Linked DNA regions of Homo sapiens: all the other regions are linked to region 1. Evidence: promoter capture Hi-C in 16 types of primary human blood cells and fetal thymus (Javierre and others, 2016). All regions are on one chromosome and are shown on one strand. Each heading gives the region's core, a stretch centred on a gene start or on the middle of the fragment in contact. The rest is flanking DNA. Distances are from core to core; before and after follow the strand shown. Region 1 holds the start of SPIC (Spi-C transcription factor). Region 2 overlaps MYBPC1 (myosin binding protein C1). Region 3 overlaps CHPT1 (choline phosphotransferase 1).

What was found. Contacts are between HindIII fragments. The CHiCAGO score rates a contact against its expected background, and 5 or more counts as called.
Region 2: a contact is called between a fragment that was not itself captured here and the fragment with the promoter of SPIC in region 1, in 1 of 17 cell types (M1 macrophages). The highest score is 5.4, in M1 macrophages.
Region 3: a fragment that was not itself captured here is called in contact with the fragment with the promoter of SPIC in region 1 in 1 of 17 cell types (M1 macrophages); the score reaches 6.1 in M1 macrophages.

Annotation. Positions count from the first base shown.
Region 1 is chr12:101,473,931-101,476,630 of GRCh38, reverse strand. SPIC (Spi-C transcription factor) reads right to left here and starts at 1,295. Exons shown (of 6, transcript NM_152323.3): 1 at 1,129-1,295. RefSeq lists an enhancer at 1,955-2,650. The HindIII fragment of the contact is 10,024 bases long and covers 990-2,700 here.
Region 2 is chr12:101,652,411-101,655,324 of GRCh38, reverse strand. MYBPC1 (myosin binding protein C1) reads right to left here. Exons shown (of 32, transcript NM_002465.4): 17 at 2,541-2,647; 18 at 2,077-2,210. Among named protein-coding and RNA genes, the nearest start is that of CHPT1, 44 kb to the left of the region's middle. The HindIII fragment of the contact is 1,258 bases long and covers 887-2,144 here.
Region 3 is chr12:101,714,934-101,717,633 of GRCh38, reverse strand. It overlaps CHPT1 (choline phosphotransferase 1), which reads right to left. Exons shown (of 9, transcript NM_020244.3): 4 at 822-906. Among named protein-coding and RNA genes, the nearest start is that of CHPT1, 19 kb to the right of the region's middle. The HindIII fragment of the contact is 1,935 bases long and covers 296-2,230 here.

The DNA of each region.
Region 1 (2,700 bases), core at 46-2,545:
ATGCTTTAAATATTAAAATAGCTATATATTTAATTATCTGAGCTGCTTGATTGATAAGAGAAAGTGGAAATAACTCAAAAGTATATATAAGTATTTCAAAATTATTTTAAATATTCTAAAATTCTGAAAATCAAAATCCTTTTTACCTTAGCATAGCTTTATAAAAATAGGGCTTTTTTAAAAAACCTTTCTTTGGTGTTATATTGCCTTCTGAGAATCTGGCAAAAGCCATCCTTTTCCTCCCATGAAAATTGGACTTATATTGCAAATAAAATTTAGCCTGTGAAGACTATCCTTGGACTTGCTTGAATCCTAGGCTAAGAAAACTCGTCTATAATTTTGTTATTTACTTTCTTATCTCTAAGTAATTCTGATTTTGCTTTAGAGAAACAATTATCACACCGACCCACAATTAAATGCTTTTAACTCTACGTTCTATAGACCAACACAGGGAACAAACAAACAAAAACCAACCCACATAATAAAAAGAACTGTGGTGGGTCCAAAATTGCTTATCATTCCATTAAGTAAACCCAGCAGTTCTTTTTATGCAAGTATTTATCTTCTTAGTATTTACCCGCAAACACAATGTGTTTACTCTTTAGTGTTTAACTTTGAATAATAAAATGAGATGATGTAATCTAATGCCAATATTATATATATCCATCATATATCAACATAACATATTAAATATCAAAATTCTGCTTGGCTCTTTGAAATCATTACATCATGTCAGTTAAAAGAAAATAGAAGAAAATCCAGAAATCACTCTTCGGCTCATGGTCTTTAGTGAATATTATCAGTAGCACATATTTTTTAAAAGCCATGTCAGTGATTTTCAATTAACTGCTTTGACTCAAAAGTGCAGAAGCACTGAATGTTGTATTTTGAATTAAATATTTAAAAATGAACATGTTCTCTTTGACTAAAATGCTCCACAAGACTATCGCAGCTATTACAAGTAGCAAATCTAAAAGGAAGAAAAAGCTTGAAAACATTATTGATTACTATGATTGCTTAATATTTCTTGCATCTGAACACGCAGACAGTGAGAAACACTCATTAGGCCAAAGGAAAAAATGAACAGTGATTAGAAGATATTTAGAAAAACATAAGCTGAGAACTTACCGGGAAGACACTTCAACCCTTTATAGAGATGTTTCATTAATATCAGAACGGTAAATTCAACGGTAGGCTATCATGAAAATAAAAAATTATTTTCCAGTGCAATGGCTCTGATGAAAAAAAATAGTAATATTTTTTTTAAAAATTAGAATTGTTAAGACATAACCATCAAGAACATACTGGCAGAGTTGCATTAAATAGCTGTTTTTAAGGAAGTTCTTCAAAAGGGGATTTTTTTTAAAAGATACAGTGCCTTCACAATTTCTATTTCATGATATGATTAGTAGACACCAGGGGCTATTATTTTGAAGAGGCACATAGTAGTTTGCATCCCATCAGCCAAAAAGCAAAAAAGCATTAGAACAAGCCCCATGAATCCCCCGCCCAACTTAGGTTGCAGCTCTTCAGATTGCATAGCCCCACCGGAAACTTCTAACCCAGGCAACTCAGGCCCACCCTTCTTTTTTTAATTCATATTACTTCTCTCCCAATTCTGGACTCTATACTCTCTTTCTTGCCTGGACTGTCAACAGCCTTCACTCTGGACTCTCCAAATCGGTCTTTCCTCCTAAACTACTTTACTTACACTGCCATTCACTGATCGCCTTAGAGAGCTTAAAGGCTTAGGGCCCTTGTCCTGACATTCAAGGCTCTTGAGCCTTAGCCTTATATCTTGCCACTCAGTTGAGTGGGGATAATAGAATCCATGCTCTTGCTTTCCTCCACACCTAAATTCAGTAGCGGCTCCAAAATGGTTAGGAAAACCTTATGGGGGGCCATGTGGTTGGACATACCTGAGGCTGCTGCATTCCTAATGCAGGTCCCGTTCTCTTACTTGGCTTCAAGGTTTATTTGGGGTGGCTCTGTTGGAAATTATGAGACGCTCCCTCCACCTAAAATACTTTCCTCCCAGTTCATCCCCCTGCAGATTCGCCCATTTTATGTTACCTGTCCATCAGTGTCCAAAGCAGCATCCACTTGTACACGGTGGAAATAACCTTCCTGTCCCCTGAAACACATGTCTGCCTCTCACTTGGCTAACCTGAAACCTGCCATTTTAATAGCTGTCACATTTTGGCCAGGGGGAAAACCGCCTAAGAATTTTTTGTAAACCTTGTGGGTGGGGAGAGTGAAGAGGGTCTGTGATTTCAAAGCTGCCAGTAACTTCAGTTTTGCATTGTTGGAGCCTAACCTCACCTTTGATAGGGGACTATTGTTTTGGACCAATTACTTTTTTGAGCCAATTTGTTATGCAAATGTTAACACACAGTCCTTCTTCTGATATGCAGATCTTATAATAACAGGTATAAAACGGTAATCACTAATGTTGATTTGTTTTTAATCTGTACTAGTCTACACCCTTTTCAAGCCACCTTATTTGGTTCATTCGTTCAACATATTACTGAGCTCTTCACTCTTCTGGGCACTGCCCCATGTCCAGGAGCTACAGCCCTGAACAAATCCTTATGAGAAGAAATGATTTTTAAAAAATAAACACATTGGTAAAGTATTAGATAAGAAGTGTCAAAAACAACAATACAAAAGAGAAAGATTATGAAGACAGTGTGCGAATAG
Region 2 (2,914 bases), core at 266-2,765, 180 kb before region 1:
TTCATCTGTAGGTGATTAGATTTGGATCTTTTTATATTTTCCATTTCAGTTCACTTTTTTCACTTAACTTTCTCTTAATTTTTATTTTATTTTATTAAATTTCTCTTAAATTTAATTTAAATGGAGAGCTTAACATTTCTCCACCTAACTTTTTGAACATATGGAATACACTTAAAATAACTATTTTCATATGCTCGACTGCTATTCTAATTTACATGTGAGATCTGAATTGGCTGTAACTGACTTTTCTCCTCATTTTGAGCTGTGTTTTCCTGCTTATTTCTCTACCATAATGTTTGACTGGATGGCAGGATATTGCTAATTTTGTCATGTTGGGTGCTTGATATTTTTGTATTCCTATATAAATCTTGAGCTTTGTTTTGAAATGCAATTAAATTATTTGGAAATTGATTGAATCTTTTAGACTTGTTTTTATGACTTATTAGGTGGGTCCATGACAGTGCTCAGTCTAGGGTTAATTATTCCTGCAACCAAGGCAAGGCTTTCCTGAGTACTCTACTCAATGCACTGTGAATGATGAGGTTTTCATGTCTAGCTAGGGGGAACAGGCACTACTATTGGCCTTGTGTGAGTGCCAGTCCACTTCTCTTTAATCCTTTCATATGTTCCTTTCTTGAATCTTGGGTAGTTTCCTCATAAATGTGCACTGATCTTTGCTGAATACTTGAGCGTGTTCCTCTGCAGAGCTCCAGGGGGACTCTCTGTGCAGCTCTCTCCTCCAGTATGTATAGTATGTATCCTATGAACTCTAGCTGCCTTGGTCTCCTTGTACAATGGGAGTCCTAAACTTAGGGAGTCCACTGGGTTCTGTCCAGGTTTTTCTTCCTTGTGCCACTGCCTGGATACTCTTTTATGGCAATAAGCTTGAGGCAATTATAGGGCTTATTTCATTTGTTTATCATATTTCATAGTCATTGTCTTTCACGATCTGATGTCCAATGTCTTGAAACCCATTGTTCACATATTTTGTCTATTTTGGGGGTTATTTCAAGTGAGTAGGTAAATCTGGTTCCTGTTATTCAATTCTGGTTGAAAGTAGAAGTCTCATTCTGCTTTTTATTATTTAATTTTATTTTTAACATTAAAAAAATTTGTTTTGAGATAGAGTCTCACTCTGTCACCCAGCTGGAGTGCAGTGGCGTGATCTCGGCTCACTGCAACCTCTGCCTCCCGGGTTCCAGCAATTCTTGTGCCTCAGCCTCCTGAGTAGCTGGAATTAGAGGCATGCTGCCACCATATTTGGCTAATTTTTTTGTATTTTTAGTAGAGATGGGGTTTCTCCATGCAGGCTCAGGCTGGTCTGGAACTCCTGGCTTCAGGTGTTCTGCCTGCCCCAGCTCCCAAAGTGCTGGGATTACAGGCATGAGCCACCATGCCCAGCCTCATGTCTTCTTTTTAAATGTAATTTTTCTTTTTTTGCTTTTATTTTTGTAGAAAGCCACGGAGTCACACTTGAGCTGGCACTACTCTACCATTTCACCCTCACTTGCATTTCTCCCAATCATTCACTTTGCCCCAGCCATGCTGGCTTTCCTTCTGTTCCTCCAACACATCAGGCTTATTCTCTCCCCTTGGCCTTTGCACTTGTAATTGCCTCCGTATGGAAATGTCTTCCGTTTGATCTTCACATAATGGGTTCCTTGTTCTTCACAGAGGCTGCCATTGACTATGCAGTTACTTGCTATTGTATCATTCTCTTTTATTATCTTCTTGTACTTATTACTATCCAAAGTGACTTTGTTCATTTATTTATTTAATAATTCATTTTCTTTTTCATCCCCCCAATTTCATTAGAATAAAAATGAGGCTTTTTCACTGTGCATCAAAACATGCTTTGCTACATAATAGTCAGAAATATGAGAAGTAAATTAATGATGATCAGATTTGCCTGAAAATCAGTCATCTTTCTTTTTCAAAGGAATTACATCTTTACTGTACTGCTGTACATTTATTTGTTTTCTACCTTCATCTGAATAATGGAGGGCAAGGGGTGGGGTAGGCAGTGTGTCTGCATATGTGTGTGTGCATGTGAGTGTGTGCAAGCATAAAACAAACCTTATCTCCCCGGCTCCACATGGCTTTAGGAGGTGGTTCTCCGCTGATGGGGATCTCAAGACGAAGCTTGTTTCCTGCAATCACTGTCACTGTGTTGTCAGCATCAAGACCATCCAGGATGATCTTAGGAGGATCTAGAATATTAAGCATAGTCTTTGTTATCAGACAGTCATTTCTGTGTAAATATCTGCACTAATGTTTGGCTAGTATGATGGTAGTAACCAATATTTTATCTAATCAAAAAGAATATAAGAGGAGTCAAGATAGTTGGTGCCTGGCACCTTGCAAAACCATTTTATTGTAAGGTGTTGGTATAAGTCACCAATCTTTCTGATTGGTGATTAATACCAATTGATGTATTTTTCCTTAAATGTCACTTAGTTTTGAATATATTATAATTCCATGGTAAGCAAAAGCAAACAAAAAAGAACACAACTATGCAATGAATTATTTTATCTACTCACCAATAACATGAACTTTGGCAGGCAGAGTAACATTGTAGGCATCAGGTGCAAATACATAATCACCTTCATCTTCAGTGAGGGCATTGGCTATCACTAACTTGTGGATCCTAAGGAAACAAGGAAAATGTATTTCTAAGACTCCAAAGATCTAGTTTATATATGACCCAAGCTGAAAAGACACTTGACCTTTATCTGATTAACTTCTTTAGTGCAGGAAAGAGAGGGAGAGAGAGAGAGAAAGAGAGAGAGAGAGAGAGAGGATGAGAAGCCTTAATTATCCTACTTATTGATTCAAATTAAATCTTTATTTTGGACTATATGGAATTATCTCCACAAATAGAATCTGCTTATTGTATATGCAGAGTCTATTATTC
Region 3 (2,700 bases), core at 14-2,513, 240 kb before region 1:
ATGTGTCCTTGGACAAATTACTTAATCACCCTAAGACTTATTTATAAAGCATAATACTAATAATATCTATTTTATAGGATTGTTCTGAGGGGCAGATAAAACTGAGGGGCAGATGGTGAATGTTTAGGAACATAAGTATTGAATGACTGTTAGTTGTTGACTATTGATATCCTTATTATTATTATTCTTAACACTATGAGCAGAAAGTGTGAGTCAGTTAGCCAGTATGGTGGACTTACGTTGTGGTAACAGGACAACTGTTTCTTCAGAAATGTTCTTCTTTTGCAAAAAAGCTTGAATTTATGACAGTGGCCTCCTAAGAGCCAACTTTTATGAAACTACTGAGGTCACCAAGCAGGCAGAAAATAAAAACATTCCTTAATATGGGAATCTTCACCTCAAAGTAGATTATAAAAATGCAAATTAACTACTTTCCTAATATTGAGTGACAAGTTTTAAATGTAAAACATTTTACTGGATTTATTTTTAAAATATTTATTTTATTTCACCCTGGAAAAAGTTATTCCAATGTGTGTTTTTTGTTGTTGTTTTTGTTTTATTTAGTATTAGGGAAATGAGGTTGTCTTCTTCTATGTGGCAATATACTCAAGCATAGGAGGAAATGCCATAAGGTATATAGGATAATACACATTATAAAATGAAGAAAAAAATGTTAAGAAATGGAACAAATATTAAATACACCAATTAAAAAAAAAAAATTAAATACAATGCCAAGGATTTTTGAAGAAAATTAACAATGCAATACTTTTTCCTAAATATTTGAAAAGTACTTAAATATAAATTTAAATATTCAGATTTACCGTATAGTCCCACATTGTTGCTCCTCCAAATGCAGACAACACAAAGACAATCACTAAAGCTATCTGAATTTCAGTTACATCCACTCTAAAGAGGAAGGACAAAGAATAGATAAGGTGTTTGTAAATAAAATTCCTGAATATGGAGGTTCATCACATATTAAATAGCAAAGATGTAAAAATCTCTGTAGGCTTAGTTTATTTTTACCTTTACTTCCATTATTGAATTATCAGTTGACTACACTGTTAAGTTAAAAAAGTTACAGAACAACATGTGCTCACACATAGGTAACGGTATATGCAGAGGGAAAAAAATATATACCATATATCAAATTGCTAATAGTTATCACTGATGTTATAAAGACTTTTATTTTCTAATTTATGAACTCCTGTAAAGTCTGAAGTTTTTTCACAATAATTACCCACTACTTGTGTACATAAGGAAAAATTATAATAAAAACAACCATATGATTTAAGGCAAATTTAAATACTCCCAGGTCAATTTCACTTAAAAAGCAGGGAAAATTCCAATAGTCTTCTTTATTGAGGTACTAATAGTCACTGTAGTTTTTTTAGTTTCCATAGACATTTTTCCCCTAGTAAATATGCTTAAATTTCTCAAAAAACCACTAACCAATCAGCATCAGTCCCTCTAGTCTGCATTCCCCTGAAGCTGTCACTCTCTCTCCTATGCTCCACGAATAGGCTCACTGAAAATTAGTCAACATTTGTAATTTTCTCCTCTCTTCACGTTTGTTGCTTAACACACTCTAGTCTGGCTTTTGGCCCCATTATTCTACTAAAATTGTTTAAGGTAAATTGACCTTCAATTTTCAATTCCAATTAAAGGATACAAATCTAAGGGATACATTTCATTAATTATCTTGCATAACTTCTTTACAATATTTAAGATGCTGATCATACCCTCTTTCTTGAAAAGCTCTGCTGTGTTTTTATCTATTCCATGTTCTCTCCTGATTTTCCTACCTTGCTGGAGCTCTTCTCACGCTCCTTCCTAGACTGCCTCTTCATTCATATCTTAAATGATGCTTTCAGAATTCCATCTGGAATTCTTATAGTCTATGAACAATTTTATCTATACTTAAAACTACCATCTATATGCTAATGACTTCTAAATCCTTATCTCCAATCTACATTTTTTCCTGAGCTGTAGATTTTTATATCTGTCTACATACTTTACATCTCTGCCTGGATGCCCCAATGTCTTTAGATGGAGGTAATACCCACCTTACGGGATAAATGTAAGGAATAAATAAGATAATGCCTGTGAAGCTCTTAGTACAATGCCTGAAACATGTAAGTGCTCGATAGGTGGTAAATACAATTATTCCATAATTGAGAATCAACTGCCTGAAGCCTGCCCTCTGCTAAATGATCCATAGTTTTAAGCTTCTCCTATCATTTATCATTAGAGAGTTTTTTCAGAGCTACTGTTTCTCCTTTTCAGCAATAAAGTGGGGCTAAAAAGAATCAGTAGGCATGGGAAGCCAAAGCCAAAATGAGCAAATGACAAAGTTCTTAAAAGGATCAGACCGAGAGGGAACTATATGAAAAAGAGGAACAGAGAATAGTATTCCTGCTTTGTGCACTATTTCCTGGTCTCTAAGAAAGAGGCAACAGAGGCAGATAATACTATCTAATGTTTAGCACTAGCATTTACAAGGTGCTTTTACATTATCTCACCAATTGCCTACCACAGTTGAGAGTCTCACAATTACCTGATGCTGGTGACTGTTGTCAAGGCGGGTCCCCTTTCTGTGCACATGAAGATTCGACCAAAAAAGGACCTTAGACTCCACACTGCATTATTTTATTATATGAATCAAATGCTTATTTAAGTACTGCATATCCCTTTTCTATA